2 separate regions of the Homo sapiens genome follow, and region 2 is linked to region 1. The links are contacts of gene promoters, found by promoter capture Hi-C in blood cells and fetal thymus (Javierre and others, 2016). All regions are on one chromosome and are shown on one strand. Each heading gives the region's core, a stretch centred on a gene start or on the middle of the fragment in contact. The rest is flanking DNA. Distances are from core to core; before and after follow the strand shown.

Region 1 (4,647 bases), core at 1-2,500:
CCTCCCCCCGCCCCTTCTCCCCTCCCCTCCTCGGCCGTCCGGCCGCCTCGCCGCCATCCGTCACCTCGCAGCCTGCCGCACTCCTGGAGCGAGAGAGCGACGAGCGAGCCACGGCGATGGTGCCGCCCGCGGCGCAGCCATGAAGCCCGCCCGAGGAGCCCGCGCGCGCTCCTGCCATCCTGCCCGCAGCCCGCCGCCTGCGCGCCAGCTCCCCGCGTCCCGGGCCAGCTGCTGCCGCCCTGCCAACCTCTGCCCGCCCCGCCGCCCGGCGCCACTGAGCCCCAAGCCCATGCCGGGCTCGGGGGCACGGGTGCCCTAGTCCCGCTGCCGCCGCCGCCGCCGCCGCCGCTGCGCCGCCGCTGCCGCGCCGCTGAGGAGGCGGAGGAGGAGGAGGAGGAGGAGGAAGAGGAGGAGGAAGAGGAGGGGGAGGAAGGTAAGAGGCGCGCTGCCTTCAGGGGGGCGCGCCCGCTGTCTCAGCCCAACCGGGGGTGGGTCGCGGCGGGAGCGTTCCGCCCCGGGCCGGCTGGGGGGCGACTGGCGCTTGGGCGCCCCCGGGAGCCGGGGGCAGGGCGGGGGGCGCCGAACGTCTGGCCGCCCGGAGTTTGGGCGGGCGGGGTAACGGCCCGTTGCGTGCCCACTGCCCCGGCGAGTCTCTGGCTTGGCGGGCTCGTTTGGCCTCCGCGGGTGCGGGGTGAGGAGTCGAGCGCAGGGGAGTGCAGCGCGTTCATTATGGAGCCTTTGTGTGCGCGCCTGGGCTGTGGGCACAGTTGGGAGAGCTGGCGAGACGCGGGGCCTGGCTGCTAGGAGGTGGCCACTTAGCCGGGGTGCCCGGCGAAGCCCGAGCCCAGGGGCTGCCAGAAACAGCTGTCTGAAGCATGTGCGTGGTTCCCGGGGCCATGTTCACAAGCGGACACGGAGGCGCACACACACGCACACACAGCCGCACAACATACCCGGCGCTCAGCCACACAGTCAGCCCCATGCAAAGACCACACACACACACACACACACACACACACACACACACACAGAGAGAGAGAGAGAGAGCGCGAGCTACACTTGCCCCCTCCCACCAAGATGCTAATAAAGCTCAAACACATATACAGATACATGCACCTCCCCCTAGCGCTGCTAAAACATGCACACACAAACACACTCCTCTACTCCCCAGCCTAGTGCTTTGGAGGTTGGAGAGTGTGTGTGTGTATGTGAGTGTGTGTGTGTTTTCTCAGAGTGGTCTTGAGAAACTACATGACAACTGCACATTACTGCAGATCCAGTACCTGCTGCTTCCCCCCAATACACACCCAGCAACCCCCCGTCACACGCAGCTACTGTAGACACCTCCACCAGAGCCCTTAAGAACCCCATTCTGGCAAAAAGCGTGCCCAACTCTGGTAGTCATACCCTCCACGCTCGAGCTGTTGGGTTTCCTGCACACACACACCACAGCCCCATACACACACACTGAAACCACTGCAGGGGCAAATGTTTGACACCTTCCCCCAGAAGCAGGTGGCACCTCCACCCTTGCAGCTGCAACTAAAGAGCCCCAGATGACAGCAAACGCCGAATTCTGCTAGACCTGCCCCTCCCCTTGGCATCTTGGTCCAGGTGCAAAACCCTGGAGTCCACCGGGTGGTCTTAGCATCCTGCAGCTCTTACGGAGGGCGGGGCAGTCTCTGGACTCCTGCCTTCGGAGGAACTGCTATAAGCGCAAGGCTCCCTTGGGGGCGCCCTTCTCGAAGTGGAGGGTGGGGGATTCTATGCTGACTCAGAGCGAAGCACCAAGTGAGTTTTCCCAGCTGGAGACCGGGGTAAATGGCGAACTCCACCTGGGCCTAGAGGACCCGGGATAGTGTGCCAGTTCAGCCACAGAGGCCCTCAGCTTGGAGGCCCTGCCCCTCCCTCGCCTTCCTTGCCCATGAAGCTCACTGCAGGAGAAGCAGGGGGAACCCAGCTGCCAGCTTCTTGGGAGCTAAGAGAGGCTTTTCGGGAAGCCTTTGCTGTTTCCGCTGAGCAAAGAGATCTTGCTCTACCCGGGGAGACCTCAACAAGACTTGGCCGTGCCCAAGCAAACATGCCAGCGTCTACCCAATTTCATGGCTTGTTTTTTTGTTTGTTTGTTTTTGTATTTCATGTGAAAGGACTAATTCAACCTTAGCAGCTTGTCATGAAGGCACCCCTGAGGTTAAATAAGGCATAATGTATTGTGGATGGGGGAAACAAGGTTGAGGGGAGCAAGGACTAGTGGGTTTTACTGTTTTAAGTAGAGATGCGGAGTTAGAATGTAGACCGTGGTAAAATCGTGACGGCGATGGCTTCTACGTCAGAGCCCCTTCCCTGCTCCTGCCCCTCCCGTCGGCTGCTCAGGGCTCCTCTGGGTCCTCTCCCCCGCCCCCTTAGATTATTTAGGCGGGGCTTTGCTCACTGCTCGGGCAAATTTGATGACAGAATCCCTGCCAGGCCAAGGTGTTAATAGCTGATAGAGGTTTACTGCTTACACCTCACAGGTAACATTTGCATTTTTAAAGGACACAGAGGAGTGACTCTGTTGGTGGGGCTTTCAGGCACCTGTGGCAGGACTCAGGCAGGAGCAGTTTGTGGACAACCTCATCTGTCTACTCTACTGTCTGTGCCTAGGCCAGAGTTATGGGTGATGTGTGTGTGGGAGTGAGGGTGTCAGAAGGTGAGATGTAATTGTGGAGGGTTTTGAGGCCCACAAAGAGAAGGTTTCAATTGACTTGAGAGGCAATTGGGAGCCACTGCCAGATTCTGAGAAAGGAGGGAATAAGATATAAGCAGGAAAGAAACACTCATTGCTGCATGTGGAGAGAATATCCCCTATCTCTCGCTGGCACCCAACACCACAACCGCCTTGCAGTTGTGGGCTGAAGGCCACCAGGGAGAGGAGACTGGCCAGGGGAGGGTGGCAGCTGCCCCAGGCTTCTGGCCCTGAGGGTTTCCCAGATATGTGAGGCATTCTGCTGAGTGGCCAGACTATTGGCCTGAACTCAGTAAGTGCCCCCTCCAACATAAGCTCGTGATGCTGTTGGTGCTATGGCTTCTTTGGATAGTGCAACAGAGCCTCTACCCCACTGGAGGAGAGGTCTGGGGACTCCTATGAGGCTGCGAGCTGCATTTGGAATGAGTCAGGGGACCCCTCCCTCTTGTAAGTGGTGCAGTCCGAGGGTCTTGAGAAGTGAGCTGTGTGGCCCAGTTGGGGGATTTTGTGACCAACGACATCCTCTAGGAGCAGTAGTAGATTGAAAAAGTGCAACAAGAAAGCCCTGGGATTGCTGATGATAGCAGCAAGCTGGGAAAGGCTTGCTGGAGATGGGGGTGGGGGTGGGTAACAGAGGAGTCTCGGGTGGGATGAGTAGAGGAGAGGAATTGCCCCACCGCAGTAATCCTTACTTCAGCCCTTGGAGGGAGCATGGGTGGATGCAGGACAACGGAAGCACTCTGTACCCACCCTCCCCCACTACGCATAAATGATTGGACTCCGTGGCTAATGCCTGATAAGGCACTTGGAGGGGCAGCACCAATGCAACAGAGGAAAGATCCCTGTTTTTGTGGCACCTCCAGGCTAACTGAATGAAGCCATAAGACACACATACATACACATACACACAAATACACACACACATATCACACACAAGACACACACCCCTCAGACACACCCTCAAACCCCAACACATACCTGGGGCAAATTGTGGAAAGAGAGGCTCATGCAGACAAGCTTGGTTTTGGGGGGTTCTTGCCTTCACATATAGGCCCTAGCAATCATTGCTAGGGGGACTAGAATTGATACCTATTGATACTAGATGAAGACCCTTAGCTTTGACAGGCCCCCTGGGAGGAAGCACACTCAAGTCAGCTTCTGTTTGTGGGGCAGCCTTAAGGCCATTAGCATTCCCAGCAGAAAATTCTGTTCTGGCTCTTCTCTCAAGGACTTCTATTTTCCTTTTTACCATAAGTTCAGAAACAAAAACATTCTCTTGCATTATCGGCAGCCAAAATGAAGGACTCTCAAAATGGGGTGGACCTTATTGTCTGCTGAGAAATCCTGGGGCTAGGGGCAAAGGGGTAGGGTAGGGAGCAAATCCAGAGAAACATGCCATTTTCCCTCCTTTCCTCCCCTCAGCTGAGCTGCCAAAGGCAAGGACAGTGATCTTGGGGTTCTGTATTATTTCCCACCCATGACAGGCAGAGCACCCTTTTCTGAGACCTGAGGCACCATCCTTAAAACAGAACATTAACAGCCTGTGGCACACTAGTGCCCAATCCCTGGTAGTCAGAAAATGAGCCTGGAAATGGGAATATGTGTATAACGTGGGGCGGGGAAAGGAGAGAGAGGGAAAGAGGTGCTACTTGTGTATCTGTAGGAGCAGGTGTGTCTATTTCTGTGTGTTTGTGTTAAGGAACATGAGAATGAGCAGGTGTGTGCACTCTTGCAGCTTTCTCAGCATGCATGCCGTAGCCAGTGTTTTTGCTCTGTGCCTCAAATTCACTTTGCCATTAGCCACACTACTAGCCACCCGCAGCTTTTGAAAGAACTCTCTGCTAGGTTCTAATATCTGGGTCTCCTTCCAGCCAAGTGACCCCTCCTTTTTTCTCTTTTATTGCTAGTTCTTCTTACTACCC
Region 2 (4,423 bases), core at 1-2,500, 330 kb before region 1:
AGATGGAATAAATGATTTGGGAAAGGGAAAGTCAGTATTGTTTTAGCCACATTGAGTCTAGTAGCTTTTACAATAGAAACGCCAGCATGAAGTATCAGGAATACTTCAAATACATGACTAGGAACATTTTGTTTAGGGATAAATTCATATGTACTAGAAACTATTTGCTTTTTTAAAAGCAAGGGAATTAATAACACAAAATTCCGGATAGTGGTCACCTCAGGGGGGAACGAAGGGAGGGAAGAGACACAGTAGACTTCTAAGGGACTGGCAATGTCCTATTTCTTAAGCTTGTAGTGGATGCGAACCTTTATTATTCTTTAAGCTGTATATATACATTATACATTATTTCGCATGGAGGAGATATCATAAAAAAATATTAAAGGTTAGTTTCAGGCAGGCAAAGTCATAAACGGTTTTTTAAAAGATGCAAGGAACTGACAGTGCAGGAAAGCATATCAGTAAGAATTTTAAATGCACTGCACTATTCCAGAGTGATGATTCTACTTGCAGAGTGAATCTAAAATTAATTTAAGCCCGTCAATAGTTAGGAGGCTCAGGCCATTTAGGCTCAAGCGGCCATTTACCTCAGGACAAGTAAGGGGAACTGAGCCCAGCAATGCCTTCCACCTCCCCTCCCCCCACCCCATAAATCGAACCGCTTTGGTGCTGTCCTTCCACATTTAGAAACAAAGTACCGCTCCCTTACTTTAAGATTCGAAAGCGCTACATGGTTTCGGGGCCCAAGCAAGTAGTCTTTAACACACAGACGTTGCAAATAAATGCGCCCGCCCCGAGCCTTTCTCAGGTGGAGGTGGAGGTAGGGGAGAACGGCGAGGGGCTGGCCCGAGGTACCTACATCTCCGGCGCCGGGAATTTGTCAGCCTCAAACCCTTTTGCCCAGCTGGGTCCGGGTGAAACGACGAAGCCGCAGCACCCGGCCAGCTCCCGGGGCCCGTGCCGGGAGGGCATTCCCACAGCAGCCGGCCCCGGTGGCAGCCCTTCCTGAACTTCGCTCTGCAGGCCTGTTCAGCCCGTCTCCCCTCCTCCCGTCTCCTTTGTCGTGTTCCCGCTCCCACGAAACCGCATCCTGAGAACGTGCAATACCCAAACCAGAAAGCAATGGAAGCCATTTTCAAAAGAAAAGGTAGAACAAAGCTCCCCTTGCCGCCTGCTCTTCAGACAAGTCCTTACCTCTTCATGTTTCCACAGGCCCCTACCTCCAACTTGGGTAAATAGGCCGCGGACCTCAAGTCCCAGAACTCCGCGCGGCGGACTTCTAAGGGTATTGTGATGGAGCATGGGGCTCTGGGAATTGTAGTAGCACAGAGCTATGGCAACAGAAAGAGAAAGTAGATCTCAAGTGACAGGTATGCTGAACATTGTCCAAATATTTATTTTGAATTTCTCATTTAGGTTCAAAAGAAGACCCAAAATATCCAGCTCATAAAACGAGTCACCTTTGACTTCTTGATTCTCTCATCCATTACCACTAATTCCTGGCTCTTCTGTAATTTCCTTTGAACTTATCAACACTGCTTTTCTTTCAAGGATTTATCCAGCCTACCTACCGTTTCCAGTCGAGCCTCTGCTTCATCCTTCACGATGTAGCCAGAGTCATCAGACACGAGTCTGACTATATCACCTGTACTAATGGTTCTCCTCTATCTGTAACAGAGACTTGAGAGTTTTCTCCACTCAGAATCAGAAGTCTGTGTATGTTCAGGCCCACATATGTTTTATTGATAATTATGGTGAATCAAGAAAGAGGTATAGTATAGTGGTTAAAAGCATAGGCTCTTAGTTTCCAGAAATGGAAATGCAAATGTCTTTAAGTGTATGAAAAGATGTCCAATCTCACAAATTTTAAAGTACACTGACTACCAGTACTCCTTAAAACTAGCAAGGTCATCAAAAACACAAGAATCTGTCACAGCCAAAAGGAACCAAAGGAGTCATGATGACTAAAGTAATGCAGTATCTTGGATGGGATCCTGGAAAAGAAAAAAAGACATGAGGTAAAAACTAAGGAAATGTGAACAAACTATGCTCTTTAGCTAATAACAAGGTTCGTTAGCTGTGACAAATGTATCAGAGTTATGCAAGGGAAACTGAGTTGTACGTATGTGGAACTTTGTACTATGCAACCTTTCTGTATCTAAAACTGTTCTAGAACTTAAAGTTTATTTTTAAAAGTACATTAAACTACCATTTTTCACCTAACAGATTGGGAAAGATCCAAAAGTTTGATAACACACTTGTTTTATTGAGATTGTGGGGAAACGGGCGCTCTCAATACACTAGTGGTAGGAATATAAATTGGTACAACATCTATTGGGGGCAAATGAGGATACTACTAAAATCATAAATGTACATTCCCTTTAAAGCAGCAATTCAGTTATGAATAGAATCCTCAATACTATATATCCTCTAACCTACTATCATTCCTTGCAACATTGTTTATGAAAACAGAAATGAAAATATCCAAGAACATACTATGAAAATGTATCATTCAATGAAAAACTATGCAGCAGTTACCAAGATGACAAAGTTCTCTATGAACTGCTACTAAACAATCTCCAAAATATAGTTAGTGCAATAGCAAGGTGCAGAACGATATGTATACTATGCTTCTATTTGCATAAAAAGGGGAGCTCTAGTCACTTAAAAACATATATATGTGTGTTTGCTTGTATATGCACAAAATATGTTTGGGAGAACTTACAGACAAATGATGAGTGAATGCCTCCAGGTAGGGGAACTGGATGGCTGAGGGACAAGGGCAGAAAAAATTCTTCACGTATCTTTTTGTGCCCTTTGAATTTTGAACCCATGACTACATTACCTAGTCAATACTTTTTTAATTAAAGAGAAACCCTCTTACATCTCAAGAAGCCAAAGAAGAAAAGATTGTAGGTAATGGTGGGGGGCGGGGCACACTACTTGGATTTGAATCTCACTTCTCAGTTGACAGTATAGCACGACAGGGTTTTAGAGGCAATCTGGACTTGAATTTTTGCTCTGGTAAGTTACTAGACCATGTGGGTTTCAGTAAGTTTCTTAACTGGTCTAGGCCAGTTTTCTCATCTGTAAAATGAGGATACCTCCTAAGTATAGGGTGACTGTCAAGCACATACAAAGGTATGGTTTTAAAGTTATTCCATGATTGAGTGGTAATCTATGAGTAAATAGTCAAATGTTAATCAGTAGATTTAGACTTATCCAAACTGCTTTGTATTTCCATGCTCAAGTTAGAGCAAAGGACCAAAAAGCAGCTACTGAAAAACATTGTAGAATTTCCTGTCCTGAGAACTTCTATCAGATTGAAAATGTCATGGTGAGCTACCTAAGACCTGTCACATGCAAATAACTGTGCTCTTGAATCATAAAGGTGAATGACTGCAGGCATAGCATGTACCACTTTGTAGCTTTGGCACAGAACGTGAACTGAATATAAGTATAAACAAAACGGGGGGTCACATCATTGCCTGCACCAGGTAAATCCTATATGGTGGTAGAGCTGAATTTTGTGGCTCAACCAATCTGTCCCAATTGACATATTGACAAGGAAATGGAAAAATACACCAAGGTTGCTAGTGTGCTTATCCCCTGGGACGGTGGCAAAGGATGGAACAAATATTACACCAACCATCACACCAAACTTGTGTACAACTTCTAATAAAACATATAGCCTATTGATACTGAAATGATACACACTACATTGCAAATCCACTAGGTGGGATGAGTGGAGAACGAATAGCTAAGATACATATTCACATAGCTGTGGAATTGCAACTGGAAAGCAAGGTCATAAGAAGTACTCTACATACCTGTGTATAACTGTAACCAGCGCAAGTGATAGGTACAAACAGACAAACATTCAGAAAATTACACTAAAAAGAAAACCAGGCCATTTCTAATTCTGCCAAACTTGTTAACTGTGTAATAATAGTTATTCTGTTTCCCACAACATTCTTCTCCCCAGCTTAAAAGGACATCAGACAGTGTATACAAAGCCTTGGAGATCTCTAGATGTTATACATGGGCACAGAGATCTTACCTAATTTCACAATTTTACCCCTAGAAGAATTTATGACAAACCGAAAAATATGCCTCATTTGTCTTTCTGTCAATTTAACAAGGTTAGTTTAATTAATCCAGAAGCTCCTTCTTAACAGAGACACATTTTCTGAGTTTGTCCTTTTTAGGTGCTTTGTTTGTGGCACGCTTCTGAAGACTACATTATGAAGCAGTTATGATTCCAAGATATGGAAGAAGATGTTAAAACCAAAAATCTTCTCTTGAATCTACTCACCATCTTATATTAAGAGTAAACAACTGTGCAAGTCTTTCAAATTTCCCAAATGAAATAGCATAAATGCTGTTATAGAGAACAAATATAGCATCTTTTCAAAGGATTAAA

Evidence for each region. Contacts are between HindIII fragments. The CHiCAGO score rates a contact against its expected background, and 5 or more counts as called.
Region 2: a contact is called between the fragment with the promoter of RBM41 here and a fragment that was not itself captured in region 1, in 1 of 17 cell types (naive B cells). The highest score is 5.1, in naive B cells.

What each region holds. Positions count from the first base shown.
Region 1 is chrX:107,449,573-107,454,219 of GRCh38, forward strand. It overlaps FRMPD3 (FERM and PDZ domain containing 3), which reads left to right and starts at 80. Exons shown (of 15, transcript NM_001388459.1): 1 at 80-433. RefSeq lists an enhancer at 1,287-2,201. The HindIII fragment of the contact is 4,980 bases long and covers 1-3,740 here.
Region 2 is chrX:107,117,572-107,121,994 of GRCh38, forward strand. It overlaps RBM41 (RNA binding motif protein 41), which reads right to left and starts at 1,251. Exons shown (of 8, transcript NM_001324242.2): 1 at 1,195-1,251. The coding sequence starts at 1,202. RefSeq lists enhancers at 555-634, 1,015-1,204. The HindIII fragment of the contact is 8,519 bases long and covers 289-4,423 here.